2 separate regions of the Homo sapiens genome follow, and region 1 is linked to region 2. The links are contacts of gene promoters, found by promoter capture Hi-C in blood cells and fetal thymus (Javierre and others, 2016). All regions are on one chromosome and are shown on one strand. Each heading gives the region's core, a stretch centred on a gene start or on the middle of the fragment in contact. The rest is flanking DNA. Distances are from core to core; before and after follow the strand shown.

The links. The method cuts DNA at HindIII sites, captures the fragments that hold promoters and counts their contacts. A CHiCAGO score of 5 or more calls a contact.
Region 1: the fragment with the promoter of ALMS1 here is called in contact with the fragment with the promoter of ETAA1 in region 2 in 2 of 17 cell types (non-activated CD4 T cells and activated CD4 T cells); the score reaches 6.8 in non-activated CD4 T cells.

The regions. Positions count from the first base shown.
Region 1 is chr2:73,384,392-73,390,614 of GRCh38, forward strand. It overlaps ALMS1 (ALMS1 centrosome and basal body associated protein), which reads left to right and starts at 1,445. Exons shown (of 23, transcript NM_001378454.1): 1 at 1,445-1,801. The coding sequence starts at 1,478. It overlaps LOC105374804 (a long non-coding RNA gene), which reads right to left and starts at 1,290. Exons shown (of 4, transcript XR_007087053.1): 1 at 1,062-1,290. RefSeq lists enhancers at 1,204-1,953, 1,994-2,233 and silencers at 1,204-1,603, 1,764-1,933. The HindIII fragment of the contact is 2,912 bases long and covers 1-2,874 here.
Region 2 is chr2:67,393,259-67,400,237 of GRCh38, forward strand. ETAA1 (ETAA1 activator of ATR kinase) reads left to right here and starts at 4,075. Exons shown (of 6, transcript NM_019002.4): 1 at 4,075-4,413; 2 at 5,911-6,039; 3 at 6,292-6,368. The coding sequence starts at 4,191. The HindIII fragment of the contact is 4,361 bases long and covers 1,319-5,679 here.

The DNA.
Region 1 (6,223 bases), core at 195-2,694, 6.0 Mb after region 2:
TCTTACTGGAGATAAACATTGAGATTTCACATTCAGGAATACAAAATTAATAAATTCTTTTCTACTATTACAGTAATAGGTCTCCGGCAAGGAGAACCCCTAAACCCCTTAAGAATAAATAACCCTAATGTACTCATAGTCCATTTAGAGGTGTTCAACAGAACTCCAAGACTGGGCTCCAGTTCATGTTCTACCCTTAAAGTTTTGCCAGGATTGGGTCATTGACAGGTAGGCAGGACATACATCCTTGGCAATAACCCTAAAATTGCCCCACCAACATTGGTTCAGCATCATTATCAATGTATCTCTACTATTGTGGGTAATACCATGAAGACTTTTTGCTGGACTCCACTTTAATTATGGCTATTTCCTTTGGTAACAGTGAAGCATCTCAAGATTATAATTATTATTTAAAATTTTAATTTAAAAATTTTCCCCATAGGTTATTGGGGGTACAGGTGGTGTCTGGTTACATGGCATCTTAAGATACTTTAATTTGCCATTCATTTCGTAGAGGTTCCTGAAGCGGTCAGGAAATCTTTGTTTTTAAAGCACTCCAAAGTCATTGACGAACCACCAAAACATATGTACTATCAGTATAAATATTTGCTCTGTTATCCTTTAACAGCTGGTTGGTCTAGGCCAGGGCAATTCCTACACTAACAGAGGACCTGGGATGGCATACTGAGTCAGCCACTTACTAGGTAAGAAACTTTGGGCAAATTAATTTTTTTAGCCTCAGATTCTTCATACATGAAATAGTAATACTTGTCTCACAGAACCGTGAGCATCTAATGAGTTATTGTACAATAACCAACCTATCACTAAGTCCTTCACATTGATTATTTCCTTTAATTATCACACCCATCCTATGCGATGGCCTATTATCATCGTTTTATAAACACAAAGTCACACCACTTTAAGTGGTGATGCCAGGATTCAAACTCCGATCTTTCTGATGCCAGTGCCCAGTTCTTAATCCCTCTAACAACCCGTGACACTTTTCCACGGTTAGGTTCAAGCGCCCACCATACAGCTTGACACTTTAGGAGATACTCAACCTTTAAAACTTTATAATTTGCATGTGTGATTATAACGGGTACGTCCTAGAGTTTGATCTCTTCTCTGTGCAGGGGCGAAACTCGACCCCAGCCGAGAACTACACTGTCCTTGCGCGGGGCCCTCTGCGCCCCGGAAGGCGCCCAGTCCCGGTTTATTGTGAGCTTACAGTACAGTTCGCAAGGTCCCGGCCGGTGACGGCGGCGAGGCGGCAACGTCGCCTGTAGCAAACCTCCGCCCTAAGGCGTTCCCGCCGGGCCTCGCGCGGCGTCCCTAGCAACGCGCGCGCGGTCTTCCGGCCCCGCCCAGGCGGGCGGCACTGCGCCTAAGCTGGGCCACAACCGCCAGTCAGGGCTCTCCCCTTCCCCTCCCTCCCCCCCTCCTCCTCCTCCTCTGCCGCCCAGAGCGAGACACCAACATGGAGCCCGAGGATCTGCCATGGCCGGGCGAGCTGGAGGAGGAGGAGGAGGAGGAGGAGGAGGAGGAGGAGGAAGAGGAGGAGGCTGCAGCGGCGGCGGCGGCGAACGTGGACGACGTAGTGGTCGTGGAGGAGGTGGAGGAAGAGGCGGGGCGGGAGTTGGACTCCGACTCTCACTACGGGCCCCAGCATCTGGAAAGTATAGACGACGAGGAGGACGAGGAGGCCAAGGCCTGGCTGCAGGCGCACCCCGGCAGGATTTTGCCTCCGCTGTCGCCCCCGCAGCACCGCTACTCGGAGGGCGAGCGGACCTCCCTGGAGAAGGTGAGGCGGGCCGGGGAGGGGTGTGGAGCCGCGGCGAGTTGGGGGTGGAGGCTGGGCCCCGAGCGCTCCGCCCGCCCGCAGGTCACGCCGCCTGACGGAGAAAACGCGCGCAGCTGAGGCTAGTAGGCGGCCCAGACTCCAGCCCAGGTGCCGGCCGGCTGCTCCGCGTCTCCCAGGCTTTGTGGCAAAGACTTCTCGTTTCCTCCCCCTCGGTGGGTCCTGGGCCTTTTGAACTCCCGTAGACGTTCAGGGGAGCCTGCATTCCCCGTGAGAAACGCTGAGAGAGGACCACGGGTGTGTCGAGCCTTGAAGGAGGGAAAAGGCGGTGTAGGACCGGAGCGAGTGGTTGCCTGGGGAGCATCTTGTTGGGGAGACAGTGAACAGATGAGCTTGACTGAATTGCAGGACTCCCCTGAGGGAGTAATGTGGATAATGTACACCGCGCGATCACTTAGTCTGGAGAGGCTCCCCGCGGGTTTTCCTCCCCTGGACCATCATTTGTAGCAATAAAGGGGTTCCCCAGCCGATAGGAGGGGCTTGGAATGCAGGAGGCTTGTGATGCGGCTCCAAACAGTCTGCAAAACTACAAAGCACAGATAATACACAATGGAGAAAGCCGATTTCATGGTAGACCCCCGAAGATCATTTTGAAAATAACTCTCCATTTAATTTGCTGCCCTTACCCCCCTTTTTTTAACTTACTGCTTTTCGAGGAGCAAGACCTGCCCTGCTCAGTACAGTAGCCACTGGCCACGTGTGGCTTTTTACATCTTAAAGAGAAAACTATTATAGTTTTGAGTAAGAGTTAAAAATAAATTAAATGAAAAATTCCATGCGTCTGTTCTTACCGGTTTTCAAGTGCTCAGCAGCCACACTAGGCTAGTGGCTACCATGTTGGACAGAGCAGATAATGGAACAGTTCCATCATCACAGACAGTGAAGGTGTAGAGTTTTGTCACTAATGAGCAGTAGTTGTTGTTTTGTCTGGTGAATATTCCAGGGGGTACTTAATTCATTGAACATGTATTATTAGAATTCACCATGTGCCACACATTGTGCTGGGTGCTAAGGAAAGCTTGGTGAACCCAAACATTTTTGGTCTCTGCCTTCCTTGTGTTCATGGTCTAGACAGGGAGGCAGACAGATTTCAGATGATCACATAAAGTGAAACTAATATATGTGCTAATATTCTATGAAAGCATAAAGTAAGATAATCTGGCCTTGTCAGTGAAGTTGGGAAAGCCTTCTTGAGGAGGTTATGATAGAGCTGATATCTGAAGACAGTTTAAGGTTAATCAGGCAAAGGGGAGGGAAAGAGCCGTCTAGCTGAGGGAAAAACACATGAAAAGGTACTGTTGATGAGAGAGAGCATGGCATTTTCCAGGACCCAGAAGCCAACGTGGTTTGAGCACAGACTGCAAGGCTTTGTGTGCTATGCCAAGGATTTAGGGGCTTTATCTCTGGAGCTTTGGGGAGTTGAAGAAAATATTTGAAACGAGGGGATGTATGATAAGTTAGGTGTTTCAGAAAGGTCAGGTGTATAGCAGAGTGTGGAACAGCTGTGATAGCAAGGTGGGATGGGGAGCAGTAGCCATAGGTCAAGGGCATAAATTAGGAGACCATTGCAGCATTGCCCGGCAAAAGATGATGAAAGTTTGGAATAGGGAAGTGTTGGTGGATACAGGGAAAAGTGGACTGATTTGAGAGATATTTAAGAGGCAAAATCATCATACTTAATAACGGATGGGATGTGAAAGGTGAAGTAGCCAGGTGTTAGGTTATTGTTTGAATGGTTGTGCCAATATTAAGATATGGCCAGATTTATGGTGGAGGTGGTGGCTGTGAGTGGGTGGTGGAATTGGTTGGGTGAGTCTTAAGATTATGAGTTTGGTTTTGAAGATTGAAGGAGAAGGCTGGGCTAGAGATTTCAAGTTGTAAGTCATTTACATAGAGACCATAATTAAAGCCACACTTGTTGACTAGGTCTTCTAACTTTTATTTTGTCCTGTGACTTCTTGCTTGAATAACTATTAATATTCAAACTTTATCTTGAAGCCTAGAGGAGGAGTTTTTTAAACAAAATTTTAATTTAATTTTAGATTTGGGGGTACATATGCACGTAATTAACATGGATATATTGCATAATGGTGAGGTTTGGGCTTCTAGTGAACCTCTCACCCAAATAATATACCTTTGTACGTGATAGTGTAACATTGTACTTGATAGGTAATTTTTCAGCCCTTCTCTCCTCCTTCTGGAGCCCCCAGTGTCTGTTTATTTCCATCTTTATGTCTGTGGGTACTTATTGTACCCATTTATCTTTATGCCTCTGTGTACCCATTGTACCCACTTGTCTTACCAGTGAGAGCATGTGGTATTTGATTTTCTGTTTCTGAATTGTTTCACTTGATAAATAGCCTCCAGGCTCCATCCATGTTGCTGCAAAGGACAGGATTTCATTCTGTTTATAGCTGCATAATATTCCACAATGTATATTAATACATACTACATTTTCTTTACCCATTCAGTTGTTGATGGACACTTAGGTTGATTTCATGACTTTGCTATTGTGAACGGTGCTGTGATAAACATATGAGCACAGATTTTTTTCTTTTTTTTTAATGGCGTCTAGCTGGTGTAGAACACCTGGGCTCAAGTGATACTCCGCCTTGGCTTCCCAAAGTGCTGGGATTACAGGTGTGAGCCAGTGTGCCTGGCTCAGATGTCTTTTTGATGAAATGATTTAATTTCCTTTGGAGAGATACCCAGTAGTAGGATTGCTGGGTCAAATGGTAGTTCTGTTTTGAGTTCTTCAAGAAATCTCCATACTGCTTTCCATAGGAGTTGAACAATTTACATTCCCAACAACAGTGTATACGTGTTCCCTTTTCTTCTCATCCTTGCCAACATCTGTTTTTTGACTTTTTAATAATAGCCATTCTGACTGGTGTGAGATGGTATCTCATTGTGATTTTAATTTGCATTTCTCTGATGCTTAGTGATGTTGAGCATTTTTTCATGTTTTTTGGCCGCTCGTATGTCTTCTTTTGAGAAGTGTCTGTTCAGTCTTTTGCCCGCTTTTTAGTGGGGTTATTTGTTTTTTCTTCCTGTTGATTTGTTTGAGTTCCTTATAGATGCTGGATATTAGTCCTTTGTCAGATGCATAGTTTGCAGATATTTTCTCCCATCCTGTAGGTTGTCTGTTTACTCTGTTGGTAGTTTATTTTGCTGTGCAGGAGCTCTTCTAGTTTAATTAAGTTCCATTTGTCTGTTTTTATTTTTGTTGCATTTGCTTTTGAGGTCTTAATCATAAACTTTTTTCCTAAGTATTCTTTAGGATTATTATAATTTCGGGCCTTACATTTAAATCTTTAATCTATCTTGAGTTAATCTTTGCATATGGTGAGAGATAGGGACCCAGAGGAGGAATTTTTAAGCTAACCCTCTTTTACTACAGCCAATGTGAGAAAATTATTTTCCTGTTTAATAATGAACTATCTTTTTTTTCCCCCGCCGAGATGAAGTCTTGCTCTGTTGCCCAGGCTGGAGTGCAGTGTCACGATCTTGGTTCACTGCAACCTCTGCCTCCTGGGTTCAAGCAATTCTCCTGCCTCAGCCTCCCGAGTAGCTGGGATTACAGGTATCCACCACCACGCCTGGCTAATTTTTGTAGTTTTAGTAGAGATGGGGTTTCACCATGTTGGCCAGGCTGGTCTTGAACTCCTGACCTGTGATCTGCCTGCCTCAGCCTCCCAAAGTGTTGGGATTAGAGGCATGAGCCACCGCGCCCGGCCTCTAATCGTGAACTATCTATGGGTAATAGAAAATCTTACTTCTGAGAGCCCAGAGTATTTTTTCCTCCCCACAGTTTTTTCTTTCCCCTGAGAAAAATTAGATATTTTCTTATTTACCTGAGAGAATATATGATAATATATAGAATATATAGATGATTTTCTGTATTAAAGGTAGATTTACAATGATACAAGGAGTGTTCAGATAATTTTTCCTTTAGTTCACTGGCATATTGAAACTTACTGGCATAGGTTGGAAAGTGTTTAAGGAAAAAATGCTTAGTATGTTTCTTGCTAGAAATTTATGAACTATGAAATTCTTAGATGTGTTGTATAACATCTAATGCTGCGTATTTAGAGGATGAGATCAAATAATAGGAAACATTAATTTCATCCAGTTTACTCTCAAGTTAAATGACAAAATTGTGTTATTCAATTTACTCTCATATCTCACTAGATAATAAGGGAGTTATAGTGGTGTTATATAAGGCAGTGATTAAGTTTGTAGTCCTGTTACTAAGGCTGAGTTAAACTATGATACTGTTTAAATTTGAAGCAAAATATGACCAGTCTTATAACTAAGTCTTTTTAAGAGGGAAGTGAGTGATTCAGAGCCTTATGTTGTTTTTAT
Region 2 (6,979 bases), core at 2,825-5,324:
TCACAATTTTTGCCTTAATAATTATTGTCAAGTTTATAAATAATCCCTGTAAGTGAAACAAGCAAGAGTTTCACTTTGGTTTATTACAGTTTTTAGTTGCAGTAAACCTTACTTATATGTATAAATTATTCAAATGCCTAGAAATGCTGAGCTATGAATCATATTGCATTCAAACATCTGTAAGACTTTTGTTTCACATTAAAAACATTTTATTAAGGAGTTAATTGTGTTATACTTATTTCAGGAGCTATAGTCAGGAAGTAAATTTAATTTGAAGTACACTTAGAAATGTAACAGATTATGTAAAGTAAGTAATTTTCAAGTTAAAATTTACTATAATTTCCTACCCCATAATGATTACAGGTTACAGCCATCCTAGGTGTGTTAAGACAACACGTCTGTACTTTAGGCTCAAGTTGTTCATTTCAGCAATGGTTACTTGGGCACTATAGAATTTGGAGTTATGGTAAAGTATTCACTGTTATTTTATTTGCAGCATTAATATGCTTTAAAGGATTACTACATGGTTATTTCTCTTATAAACATCACTAAATTCTTTAAACTTCCTTAATTACTTTCTAAATGTGAGTTGGATATTTATTTGGTAAATTAAGTTCTTTTTACATTTTTTTTAATGCTTCTAGGATTTTTGGTCATTTGAGAGGTAGGAGAGATCTCTGAGAGAAATAGTAATATTCCTGCTAATTTATACAAGTGAAGGTTCAAGTAATTAATTTGAATTTTAAAAGATGTAATATCACTTGTATTCCAGTCTTATCCGGTTATAAATAAATAAAACTAAACAATGGTTTAAATACATGTAGGTAAAAAACAATCATGGAAAGAAAAAGTATTAGTAGAAGGTCAAACACTGAGGAAAAATAATGGAATTATCTATTCACAACGGTTTATATGGTTTATATAACTGCTAGCCCTGAATCTCAAATTTAGTTCTAGGATTTCTGTCAGCAAAATTAAAGAGTAAAAACAGAATAGTTTACAAGATAGAAGAAATATATCAGCTCCTCAGTAGGAACTAAGATCTTTGCCTTACATTAACATTTTAAACATTTTAATTGATAAATATAACATGTGTGTAGAAAATGAACAAAATGTACAGCTCAGTAGATTACCACAAAGCAAATACTTTTGTAATTAACAACTAGAACATGAAAATAAACAAAGCCAATAAATACATGAAATTCTCTCCTCCCTCTGTCCACTTCTAATCACTGTCCCTTCCCCCTCCCGAAGGTAACTATTATCCTGACCTTTATGGTAATCATTCCTAGATTTTTCTTTATCATTTTAACACTAAAGCTTACATCCCTATACAATATAGTAGAACTTTGCCTGATGGAATTTATATGGGATTTATTTAACATTATGGAGGAGGGTTGGGAGGTCTAGCTTTTTTTTGCTCAACTTTATGTTTGTCAGATTTATCCATGTTGTCGCACAGAGTTGTAGTTTTCATTTTCATTGCTATTTTGTTGTGTGAATATAGTTCAATATATTTATCATTCTACTGTTGGAAAGCATTTGGTCCACTTACAGTATGAAGTAATTTTGAATTGAATTTTACTGCTAAAAGCATTTTTCTTCTTCTTTGTTTTTTCTTTTTTTTTTCTGTTGCCCAGGCTGGAATGCAGTGGCACAATCATGACTCACAGCAAGTCAACTTCTGGGCTCAAGTGATTCTCCTTCCTAGTAGCTGGGACTACAGCCATGCGCCAAAATGCCCAGCTAATTTTTTGTATTTTTTGTAGAGATGGGTTTTCGCCATGTTGCCCAGGCTGGTCTCAAACTCCTGGGCTCAAGCAGTCCACCTGCCTCGGCTTCTCAAAGTGCTAGGATTACAGGCATAAGCCACTGCATCCCACCAAAGCATTTTTATAAACTGTATCTTGATGAACAAGTCCATGCATTTAAACAGAGAATATTCCTCAGAGTGGGATTGCTAGATCAAAAACTGGTTTCCAAAGTGGTTGTGCCAAATTATACTCTCACCAGCAGTACGTGACAGCTTCCATTGGTTTACTGCCTCAATACCTATATTGTCAGTCTTTTTAACTTTAGCCATTCTGATATGGTTTTCATTTGCATTTTCCTGATTAAAAATGAATCTGATTTTTCCATAAGTTTGTTGATAATATTTTCTCTTGTGAAGATCCTGCTCAAGGGTCTCATCCACTTTTGGTTTTGACAGTCAATCATTTCCTTAGTGATTTGTATCAGTTCTTCATATAACCTATATATAGGCCCTTAAATATGTCTTATAAATATTTTCTCCCAATTTGTGCCTTGCCCTTCCTTCTCTTTAATGTTGTTTTTGAATGGACAGAAGTTCTCAAATTATCAATTTTGTGTAGTCACATTTATAATTATGCCTGGTGACCTTTGTTTTATTTCAAATGCGTTCTGTCATGAAGACAATTTATACCTTCTAAAATGTTATTTTATCTTCTACAATTAAATTTATAATGAATATATATGCACCTGATTTGGGGATAAAGTTTGAGGTAAAGGTCATGTTTCTTTCTTTTTCTACATGAACATCAAATAGACCAAGCACTATTTAATTTCAAAAGTCCTTTTACCATTGCTCAGAAGGGTCACCTTTGTCTTAAATCGTGTTCATTTATATGGAAGTCTGTTTCTGTGCTATCCTGTTTCTTTCATCTTTGTCTATCCTGACACCATCATAACACTGTCTTAATTACCATATAAGTCTTGATACCTGGTAGATATCAACCCTCATTATTCTTCGAGAGATCTTCAAGAGTTTATTGATATTTTTGGTCCCTTGCATTTTCATATAAATTTTAGAAAAAACTTACCATGTTACACACACACAGTCACACACTGGGCCTTCATATGTATTTATGTTGAATCTATAGGTCAGTTTGGAAATAGCTGACATTGTAACAATATTGAGTCTCACAACCCATGAACATAGTGTAACCATTTATTTAGGTCTTCGTTTTCTTTCAAAAAAAAAATTTTTTTTTTTTTTGAGACGGAGTCTTGCTCTGTTGCCCAGGCTGGAGTGCAGTGGCGCAATCTCGGCTCACTGCAACCTCCACCTCCCAGGTTCAAGCAATTCTCTGCCTCAGCTCCCAAGTAGCTGGGATTACAGGCACCCGCCACCACGCCTGGCTAATTTTTGTATGTATGTATGTATGTATGTATTTACTTATTTTACACGAAGTCCCCCTCTGTCGCCCAGGCTGGAATGCAGATGCGCGATCTCTGCTCACTGCAAGTGCAGTGGCGCAATCTCGGCTCATTGCAACCTCCGCCTCCCAGGTTCAAGCAATTCTCCTGCCTTGGCCTCCCCAGTAGCCGGGACTACAGGCACGCACCACCATGCCCGGCTAATTTTTTGTATTTTTAGTAGAGACGGGGTTTCACCATGCTGGTCAGGCTGGTCTTGAACTCCTGACCTCGTGATCCGCCTGCCTCGGCCTCCCAAAGTGCTGAGATTACAGGCTTGAGCCATGGCGCCCGGCCTCAAAAATGTTTTATAGTTCTCTTTGTAGGAAGGACAATCTTTAACTTATTCCTAGTTACTTGCTATCTCATGCACTATTATAAATAGTATCTCTTTAAAACTTCAATTTTATATCTGTTGCTAATCTATTGAAACACATTGATCTTTGAATATTGACTTTGTATCCAGCAACTCTTAAATTAATTTAGTAATTTTTTCTACTTTCTTTTGGATTTTTCTATGCACATAGCATCTATGAAAAATTAACTGTATTTCCTCTTCTTGAGAAATTCGAAGACTCTCAATAATCTGAATTTGACTAACGTGCAATTTTCGTTGTAAATTCAATAAAAAGTTGCTAGTGTATTCAATCTTTCCAACTCACAAGCTCCCACTCTCAGTTTACGCGGACCTGACTACTACCCGAACAACCCCCACCAGTCTGGAGGATTTTGAGCCTAGACACTCCTCCAGAGCAGGCTCCTGTCCCGGCTGCGGAAGTGCGCGCGCCCTCGGCACCTTAACAGTTCCGCCCCTCTCCCGGACCCAGCCAATCAGCGGCCGCCTCTTGCGCGCGCCCCACCGACCAAAATGGCGGCTGCCGTTGGTGCGGGGTGCGGTTTGTAGTGCTGTTGCCCTACTCATCCCTTTGCAAAATGTGAAAGAAGAAGCGGCTGGTGGAGGCGGGCCATAGGCAATGAGTCGGCGAAGGAAACATGATGACAGCCCTAGCCCGAAGAAAACGCCGCACAAAACAGTGGCGGCGGAGGAATGCGGCTCGGTGGTCGAGCCAGGGAGGAGGCGGCTGAGATCGGCCCGCGGTTCGTGGCCCTGCGGGGCTAGAGAGGGGCCTCCCGGGCCAGTGCGGCAGCGAGAGCAGCCTCCGACCGCCGCCCTGTGCAGTAAAAGTAACCCCGAGGGTGAGACGTCGGCAGCGCGGCCTGCCTTGGCTTCGGCGCCGCATCCCCACATCCCAGCTTGCAACAGGGAAATCTGGGGTGGGGGTGGAGTCTGGAGCGTGTATTCTGTCTCTGGGATTCACCCCTCGAGAGTCCAAAAATAATCCTATACCACTCCCCGATGGGCTTTTGTCCCCGAACTTCAGCACTACCCCGTTAGGTTTGACCATCCATTTGCCTCCGCCACAGGAATAGGTAATGTGGTTTACCTGTTTGCGGGAGGGCGGCTGCTTTCCAGGCTGCTCCTCCAGTCAGCAGCAGTGGTGGAGTGAGAAGAAACAGCTGATAGGCCCGCTAACCTCAGTTTTTGCCCGGAGAAGTTATTTCTCTTTAAACCCTTTTTTTCCCTGTGACCTGCTTTAGAGAAGAGTTCATAGGAAAAGTTAAAGTTTGTCTCAAAGCCTGGTAGATGTCTCACCTCATTGTGAATAAACCGGAAGTTCCTGTGTGTAACATCCCTCCAAATAAGATACTAAGGATCTCTTTCGTCTCGATTAGTTTTAGGTGTTACTTTTTAAAAGACTTCTAGTAAATCTTAGTTGGAACTGAAACTCATACAAAAGCCTTTATTCTGGAGCATGTTCTTGAAATAGTGCTTTTTTTTTTTTTTTTTTTTTTATACCTTACGTGTCTTTTTTCTTTTGGGAAAGAATCTCGCCCTGTCGCCCAGGCTGCAGTGCAGTAGCACAATCTCGGCTCACTGCAACCTCCGCCTCCCGGGTTCAAGCGATTCTCCTGCCTCAGCCTCCCAAGTAGCTGGGACTACAGGCGTGTGCCACCTCGCCCGGCTAATTTTTTGTATTTTTGGTAGAGACAGGGGTTTCACCGTGTTAGCCAGGATGGTCTCGATTTCCTGACCTCGTGATCCACCCGCCTCGGCCTCCCAAAGTGCTGGGATTACAGCCACCGCGCCCGGCCACCTTACATGTCTTTAATAATACTCCTATAAAGCAATTTGGGAATGAACAAAAATCTTTATAAAAATTTGAAAGTGATTCTAGACAAAAATTCCCAAGCATTGGATCACTAATGGTTTTTGAAGAATGGCAATTAATGTAGATTAGATAGAGTTGGTGAAAGGGGGCTAAACATATTTAGGTTTCTGTTGGGTTACTTTGGATTTTTGAATGTACCTATAAATTACAGATGGTTCCCCAAAGCCTCCAAGACTCAATGGTAATAAATAGAATGACTTAGGTTATACAGTATTGTATTATGCATTCATAAAGCTTCTGGATTATCTAGAAGTGTTTGCTATTTACAATGTGAAGTTTGCGAAGTGCCGCGTGGATTTTTATGTGAAACAAGCATTTCTGTTACGGTTCAGGTAATTATCTCTGGGAAAAAAAATTATCTTGGACTATAAAAGTTAGTCTCAGCTATTTGACCTTGGGGTCTTACGAAGTAAGGTAATGCTTTAAAATGCAACAATTGTTATTTTACTCATATTTTATATAGAAAGGTATGAAACACCAAAGAGAGCGCTGAAAATGGACTCACTGTCATCTTCCTTCAGTTCTCCTAATGATCCAGATGGACAGAATGATATCTTTTGGGATCAGAATTCTCCATTGACAAAGCAGTTAGGTAATTAATTATTAACATTTTTTATGTGAGTAAATATTTGATAAATGATTCAGATTTAACTAGAATTCTAGTCAGATAATAGCATCGGGAACCTCTGAGAATGTTATATGATTTTATCTGTATAAGTATGTGATGTAAACACATAATCCTCTAAGCTGCACTAAATAAAATTACTTTCTAAGAAGTGACAGCTGTTTTTTAAAATGGAGGGTTTTTTGTTTAAAATTTATAGAAATGTCTTTGTTTCTTTAGGTAAAGGAAGAAAAAAACAGATTTACACCACAGATAGTGATGAGATTTCACATATTGTTAATCGTATTGCTCCTCAGGTAAATATCACTAGTTTTACAGTTTGTTTTAAAACAGTGAAGAATGTGCCACTAAGTTTTTGTAGTTTCTTTAAATGAAAAGTATTGTCTATTATAATTCTTTTTTCCAAAAATAAGGCAGCAAAGATTACTGTTTTGCCTTTTCTACTTTTGAAATACATATTTTGAAAAAAGGAATATAATATAAAATACAAGATATTTTCTTAAGTATATATCTTGTTTTAATTTTTTAGAGTAATTTTTGACTAGGGCATTGTGTTTATCTGTAATGTTGTGCTTAACAACATACGACATCATTTTTCAAGTTGCTAAAATAATAGAATAAGGCAGTGAAAAAAGTTTATACTTCTATGATTGTTTTGTGATTGGTACTTCCTGTCTGTAACATTTCCCCATTGAAACTATTAATACTCATTTCCTTATAAGATTATCAAGAAACACTTACAAAAGTGGAGAGCACTGAATTCAAATTTAGTCCTCATTCAACCTCCTATGCTGTGTGACCCAGTGCAAGTTATTTAAACTCCCACCACTTCAGTTCATTCAGCCATGAACTAGAATTATTGTGTTGCTCTTGCTGTCTTCATTGGATCATTATGAGAATTAAACTA